2 separate regions of the Homo sapiens genome follow, and region 2 is linked to region 1. The links are contacts of gene promoters, found by promoter capture Hi-C in blood cells and fetal thymus (Javierre and others, 2016). All regions are on one chromosome and are shown on one strand. Each heading gives the region's core, a stretch centred on a gene start or on the middle of the fragment in contact. The rest is flanking DNA. Distances are from core to core; before and after follow the strand shown. Region 1 holds the start of RPE65 (retinoid isomerohydrolase RPE65). Region 2 overlaps WLS (Wnt ligand secretion mediator).

Evidence for each region. The method cuts DNA at HindIII sites, captures the fragments that hold promoters and counts their contacts. A CHiCAGO score of 5 or more calls a contact.
Region 2: a contact is called between a fragment that was not itself captured here and the fragment with the promoter of RPE65 in region 1, in 7 of 17 cell types (total B cells, naive B cells, M0 macrophages and 4 more). The highest score is 14.3, in total B cells.

Annotation. Positions count from the first base shown.
Region 1 is chr1:68,448,704-68,452,423 of GRCh38, forward strand. RPE65 (retinoid isomerohydrolase RPE65) reads right to left here and starts at 1,251. Exons shown (of 14, transcript NM_000329.3): 1 at 1,192-1,251; 2 at 1-3. The coding sequence starts at 1,202. LOC124904198 (a long non-coding RNA gene) reads left to right here. Exons shown (of 2, transcript XR_007066164.1): 2 at 1-2,820. The HindIII fragment of the contact is 10,150 bases long and covers 1-3,720 here.
Region 2 is chr1:68,129,041-68,133,113 of GRCh38, forward strand. The region is part of intron 11 of WLS (Wnt ligand secretion mediator); the gene reads right to left. The region is part of intron 8 of GNG12-AS1 (GNG12, DIRAS3 and WLS antisense RNA 1); the gene reads left to right. Among named protein-coding and RNA genes, the nearest start is that of MIR1262, 53 kb to the right of the region's middle. The HindIII fragment of the contact is 1,525 bases long and covers 1,420-2,944 here.

The sequences.
Region 1 (3,720 bases), core at 1-2,500:
ACCCTGAAATGGTGGAAGAATAAGGAAGAAGCCCATGTTGATGCTCAAAGTCCGCAGAGATAGAGGCAGAGCTGCAGGAGAGAAGGCACTCTAGGGCTGGCTCAAAGCCTGTTCACTCCTGCCGGTCTAGTCTCAGCTGGGTGGGGGTGGGGGTGGGGGGAGAAGCGAAGGTGAGGGCGGGAGGAGCACGTGAGGCTGGGGGTGGGGAAGACTACTCAGGTATGGAAGGGGGTCCCAGATCACTGCTCTGATGTCAAGAGACATGACCTCTCTTTTAATGTCAATGGTTACAGTGAACTTAATCCTGTCCTCTGCAGTTTTTCCTTACTTCGGAAGACAAATCAATCAATCCTACTGCCATCAGTTCACTTCCTGAAATTTGTTCCTAAACAGGGTCCTTCCCACAGTATTCTCCCACCCTATCAACATGCTCAGCTCACAGCATCATTGATTTTCTTGCCTCAAGGAGAGACCCATTTATCTCCTTCCTAGGGGTTGAGAGATGACAGCTTTTTGGGTCAGGTACCTCATCTTTCATTATTCACTCATATTATACCATAATTTTTTCCCCATCATCTCATTTCTCTACCAATCCCCAAGACCTACAGTACTTTTTCATCATAGTCAGACCAGGAGATTCAGGTTCTATATTTTTGTTTACTTTCTACATCCTCTGTTCAGTTTCATGTTGTAACTTCAAAGAGTGGAATCTCTGACCAGACTCAATTATAATAATTACCTTTTACTAAACAATTACTATGTCCTACATACCATAAAAAGAACTTTGCATGGTATTATCTCTTTTAAATCTCACAGTAACATAATGGAGTAAAAGCTATTGTGACATCTTTCTATATACAGGAAAAGCTAGACTTAAAAAGTTAGGTAATTTGTCCAAAGTCACACACTAGGAAATGACTGGGCAAGGAGTGGAGCCCAAGTCTGTCTGAAATCCCCATACTCAAGACTGCTTCCAAACCCCGGGCTAAGTCACACAAACCCCCCATAATTTGGACCTGAATTCTAGCTAGTTGCTTTAATACATAAGCAGGAAAAAATTTCCCCACCAAAATTCAAGGGTCTTTCCTAAACAGGTCATTAATCAATGCCTTCTCTTCAGGAGCCCTTGAAATAGCACATTTATCATGAATCCATGAAGGTGTTTTAAAAAAGTCTCCCAGAGATACTTACTGGATAGACATTTTCTTCCAGTTCAGGATCCAGAGTTCTGGCACCAACTGCAGAATGAAGAAGGAAGTTCTCAGCCAGGGGCCTTTTTATGCCTTCTAAATCCCTTAAAAGGAGTTATGGCTTTGGGAGCCCTTCCCCACCCCTTCAGCTGAGGGAGGGGGAACAGAAGTTGCTTTCAGCTCTCAGATCCCCCTGATGCTTGGCTTTATTTGGGCTTGCTGTTCCCATAACAGTTGTTTGGCTGTTTTCCAGAGACCTCAATCCTTCCCAAGGAGAATGAGAACAGATTAGAAAGAAAGGAGCTAGGTGGGAGTGGCCAGCGTCAGGCCTGAGCTGATCCCAGTCACCCCACTGGACCTTGGCACCATTCTCTGGGGCCCACCTCCCCCTAATACCTCTGTGCCTTCATTCTCACCCTCATTCATTAACTCACTTATTTTTAAAAATATCTATTACATACCACCTATGAACCAGACAGAGATGGGTATTGTCCCTGTCCCTGTCTTCACAGATCTTATAACTCTGTAAGAGTTATAGTAAACAAAGTATTCAACCATGTTTGATTAGTGCTAAGATTGGAGAAGTATAAAATGTTATGGAAGCACATTGTGCACCTCTAACCCTCTCTAGCAACCTTATTGATACCATTCAGTGCCAATATTCTTCCAACCAGGTTGAGGACTTTTGATTTGCTGAGAATGAAATTCTGCATATCTTTGCTTGTCACTAATGCCTGTCTGCTCTCTGCCTCACCTTCTTGTCCATTGGTATATGTTTGGCACTCTGAGAGTATACAGCATCAATTCATTCATATCTCCAATACTCTTTCATTAAGTCTCAGTTGCTTGCCAGCACAGACAAGGTACTGCCCAAAGAAGTCCTTGGAAAACAGGCAAGATATATACTATACCAGCTAACAACCTTAACATTTTTTTTGAGAAACTCATTAACAATTTTAAATTTAGTGTGCAGTTATGGCTACTTACCCTAGGGGTCTTCTTCAACAAAACTGTATAACAATTAATCCAAGTGCTTCCCAAGATATACAACAGTAGCTTCATTTCCTTACAGTGAGGGCATAGGCATGTGATGGGCTCCACCCGTTAGGGACAGTGGTAGAAGTCCTAATGGTAGCACCTGGGGCTTAGCATCCATAATATCTCTGCCCATCCAAGGCAGTTGTAGTGTCTCCATTCAACAGTGGAGCCCGGAATATTGTTACTGGCTGGGTAGCCTCCAAGCTCCATCCTTTAGCCATCCCAGAGATTGTTAGCTCTCTAATATTTACAATATTTGCGTTCTGCTTTATTAGAGTTAGTTCCATTATTTGCAGCTAAGAGCCCTATGCCTATAAAATGATGGTAGTATAAGATACTACCATCATATTTTGGGGGGTATAATCACTTTTGTTGGATCTTGGAGAGTAATAGAAGAGGAGATTAATATCTATCTTTCCACATTAAAAGACCTGTTTCCAAAATATTTCAAATAAGAAACTTCTCCTCAAAGTACAAGGATAATCCAAATCTTCTTAAACCAGCAATAAAAGCATAAAATTTTTATTTAGAATTAAAGCAAATACTTCTGTATCACAAACACAATATTAAACTTCAATAAATATACCACTAATTTGGAGTGAGCACTTATTTGCACAATACCATACTTTTTTTTTTGCTATGAGAATGCTTTATTAGGCAAAACCATATACTATGAAAGTGCTTTAAAATGCAACAGGAGGAGATGTGAAGACACAAAGAACAAGTGCCTAGTGACACATGGATATCAGAACACACCAAGTAAAGTATCCACACTGCTTCCACCCTTTACCAAGAAAAGGAAGGATCTAGGCCACCTCCTCCTCGTCACCGTAGGATGCTGTGGTACCACCCAGGAAGAACATTGATACTGGCATTAGGAACCTCCAGGAGAAAAAGGAAGTATCTAAGCTGAGATGGGATAAATATATAAAAGTTAGCCAGTCAAAGGGCAGGTAGAAGAGTGTTCAGGCACAGCTTGTGTTATTTATAAAAGTCTAGAGGCTAACATAAGGTGGGAAAATAGCTAGAGATGAAACTGGACTAGAGATAATCATAGGCCAGATTGTGTAGAACATCATAAACTAGGCCAGGCACAGTGGCTCACGCCTGTAATCCCGGCCCTTTGGGAGGCCGAGGTGGGCAGATCACGAGGTCAGGAGATCGAAACCATCCTGGCTAACACGGTGAAACCCCGTCTCTACTAAAAATACAAAAAATTATCCGGGTGTGGTGGTGGGCACCCGTAGCCCTAGCTACTCGGGAGGCTGAGGCAGGAGAATGGCGTGAACCCAGGAGGCGGAACTTGCAGTGAGCTGAGATCGTGCCACTGCACTTTAGCCTGGGTGACAGAGCGAGACTCCATCTCAAAAAAAAAAAAAAAAAAAAAAGAACATCATAAACCATTTACAGAAATCCAGACCCTTGTCATGAGAAAAGGGGAATCACTGAAATATTTTATCCAGAGGAGTGACATGATCTGATTTGCATTTTA
Region 2 (4,073 bases), core at 932-3,431, 320 kb before region 1:
ACAGCCGGGTGCGGTGGCTCACATCTGTAATCCCGGCACTTTGGGAGGCTGACGGCGGCGGATCACTTGAGGTCAGGAGTTTGAACCAGCCTGGTCAACATGGCAAAACCCTGTCTCTACTAAAATTAAAAAAATTAACCGGGTGTGGTGGCGCATGCCTGTAAGTCCCAGCTACTCAGTAGGCTCAGGCAGAAGAATGGTTTGAACCCGGAAGGCGGAGGTTGCATTAAGTCAAGATCGTGCCCTTGCACTCCAGCCTGGGTGAGAGAGTGTCTCAAAAACTAAACAAAACAAAAAACTACACATAAAATAATTTGAATAAATTGTTTAGCATATTTACTTTGCTTTTGTATCTGATAAATTTATAGCATATAAATCAGTGCACTGACAGGAGAGCTGTTATAAATTTATGAGTATTGGCCATATGCACTGTTAGGGGTTTAGCATGCCCTGTATTTCCTTGTACGATGTGAAGCTACTGTGGCATAATTAATTTCTCTACTGTGCTGGATGAGGACCCAGATAATGGGACTCCATGCACCAAAATCTATGTTTCACATGTGATTTTATTGTACCTTGAAGGCCAACTGTTCCCCCTTGGGGAATGGGTGTGTGAACGTGGCAGTAACATAGCACGAGTGGAGATCCCTCCACTTGCCTCCTAATTCCATCACCTCCTACTTCTGCCAAGGTCTTGCTCCATCTGTTAGTTTCCCCCTCTCTTGGCTCCTGCTGTTCAGTGCACAAACATGCTCAAAAGTCTCTTCCCATCTCAGACAAGAAAAAACCCTTCTGAAAATGTGATATGTGTCTTGGGGTGAAAAAGAGTGAGAAAGAAAAAAGAAAAGAATGCTTTAGTTTGCAGTAAATTTCTCTCCCTGGTTATGATGTCAAATTCATCACAGCTCATTAACAATTAGATGACGGTCTATTTCTTCCTAACCTTGTGAAATGAGACCAATCTCTGGCACAGATTTCATCCCAAAGGACTACGGCAATGCATCCATATGTGTGGAGTCACATCCACAGGTGTGTAAGCGGCTGCTTGGTTGTAACTGCCTGGAATGCCTAATGAGGATGAAGAAAGCCATATGCACTGGAGACAGCTTCTTAGGACCGGCAGCATTTTAATGACAATTGTTTGTGTATCTGTGCCCACTTCAATAAAAATGACAACAGCTACTCTCATTCTGAGGATGTATTACAGATTCCGGGAGAGATCGGAGGTACCACTAGAGGTCTTCTAATATTAATAAGGCCTACGTACTTCCATCCTCACCACTACCAATGCAAATTAACACCCCACTGCCCAAGTGTGAAAGCCAGGGAGCTCCCATACCATGAGTTCATATTTGTTCTCAAGGTCATACACAATGTGTGCCGGAGCCAAGATTCCAAACCATCTGTGTCTACCTCCAAAGCTTATGTTCTTTCCAGAACATTCATGACCTATCCTTTTTTGTAGAATTTTCCCTAGGCCCACACCAACCTCTCTCCTATTCACCTTCAAAGCTAAGTTCAAATGATAACTTTTTGTAACGAAGTCTCTGGTTCACAGCAGAATGAGAAAAACAGAAAAGTGTAGTATTTTAAAGCCAAATTATTTTCATGCAAAGAACTGCTTAAGAATATGTCTGCCTTACATTTTTGGTGTTAATATGATTGTTATGTTAAAGAACAAAATAGTGTCGCTGGTGCAGTGGCTTACATCTGTAATCCCAGCACTTTGGGAGACAGAGGCAGGAGGACCACTTGAGCCCAGGAGCTGGAGACCAGCCTGGGCAACATAGAAAGATCTTAACCAAAAGAAAAAATAATAATAAAATGGTGAATGGTAGGTTTCTTCTTCTTTTTTTTTTTTTTTTTTTTTTTAGATGGAGTCTTGCTCTGTCACCCAGGCTGGAGTGGAGTGGAGCGATCTCAGCACTGCAACCTCCGCCTCCAGGGTTCAAAGAGATTCTCCTGCCTCAGTTTCCTGAGCAGCTGGGACTACAGGCGCATGCCACCATGCCCAGCTAATTTTGTGTGTGTGTGTGTGTGTGTGTGTTTTTAAGTAGAGACAGGGTTTCACCGCATTAGCCAGGATGGTCTCGATCTCCTGACCTTGTGATCCACCTGCCTTGGACTCCCAAAGTGCTGGGATTACAGGCGTGAGCCACCGCACCTGGCCTTTTTTTTTTTTCCAAAGAAAGTAAATACCCAGGACAGTATGTGGTATATAGTAAGTGCTCAAAACACCCATGAAAGATTTGCCTGGTGCAGGCAAGGGCAGTTCCTCTGTACTCTGCATGGCTGGGTCTAGCCTAGCATATCGGCACTGGTGTTCTTCCCCACTGGCATTTAGGAAAACACCCTCAGTTAGAAAACAAGTGTGCCTTGGGATAGCTCAGCTTTGAGGATCCCTTCTGGGAGATGGGGCAGAGTGGCTTTGGTGGACAGGGTTAAGAGCCCTGGGTCCAGTTGTCTCTCGGTGCCTGTCAACCCCAGAGGTCATTTATTCCAGGCTTGGAGCGAGCCATTGCCCATGGACCTCCAAAGCACCTCCTGACACTTACTGCCAGGCAGTAACTGCAAGTGGGAGAAGAACACAATAGAACTTATTAGTTTGGGGGTAAAATCTTGGTGTTACAGGCTGAATTGTATCTCCCCCAAACTCTCAAATTCATATATTGAAGTTCTAACCCCTAGAACCTCAGAATGTGACTGTGTTTAGAGATAGGGCCTTCTTAAAGAAGTAATTAAGTTAACAATGAGGTCAATTGGGGATGGGCCCTACTCCAACAGACTGGTGTCCTTTGAAAGAAAAGGAGATTAGAATATAGATATACACAAAGGGAAGACCACGTGAAGACACAGGGAGAAAGTATCCATCTACAAGCCAGACAGAGAGGTCTCGGAAGAAACCCACGTTGGTGATACCTTAATATCAGACTGTGAGAAAACAAGCTTCTGTTGTTTAGGACACCCTGTCTGTAGTATTCGTATAGCAACTCTAGCAAACATTTAGGAAGCCGAAGGTTCTTCCCAAGAAGGTAACTGAGATGTCCCTATCATGGTGGGGTGACAAGAATTCTAAGACTCAGAAAAAATGATTTTAATTGACTGGGCCAGGAAAGGTCAGGTCACTGGCACAGCAATAGCCCTGGGAGAGGCAGGGGGCAGAAGACACCTGATTACAAACAGCTGAGCAAGGGGTGCCAGGCTGGTGACGGTCCATCAGTTGGTTCCCACCTTCACTGGGGAATGGGAAAACGCTTTTAAGACCTGCTTTAGGGTCTGGGTCCAGCCCGTGTGACAAGACCAATCCCATCAGTGCTCACAGACATCAAGAAGCTCAGCTGGCCATGGGCAGATCATCTAATGTACAATCAGGGAGATGGCGTCAATAAAAGGGGGCAACCAATGTCAGGGCCTCAGGACTTAATCCAACGCTTTACCGAGGCAACAAAGCCAAAGCCATCTTTCCTATGAAACAAGGGGCAGGAGACCTCAGAAACCTCCAGGAGTAAAACTGACATCACACTGTAGCTAGCTGCCAAGACGCGGAACCAGTGTTGCCGCTTTTGCTCCCCGCAGAGTGGGTGCATTAGACAGAAAATGCTTAGCGTGAACAGAAATAGGAGGGAATGGTGGCAGTGAGGGCATCTTGTGTTCCCTCTGCCACAGTCATCTAGTTGGGAATTCTGTGTCTCACTTCTTTTTTTAAAACATTCTGACAAGAATTTTATAATCAAAAGAACACAAAAATCAAAGCTATTATCAAGAATTGTCTGACTTCATAAGCAGCTCCAACTTCTTATTCCCACCTGAATTGTGGTTGAGTGGGTTTGCACAGTTTTTCATGTGTGCAGGGCTTTGCTGCTGGAGCCCCGGGAGGTGGTATTTTTGCTCTGAGAAGAGGATTCACTTTAGCCTGCTGCAATTCATATCTGCCTGGGAAGACATCCAGAATGATTCACAAATTGGTTATGGCAACAGGTAAAAAGAACAACTGTCATGAAAAGGCAGCAGCAGCAACAGCAACAGCAGCAGCAGCAGCAGCAGGGCAGAAAATATAAGTGTTCCTTGAAGGA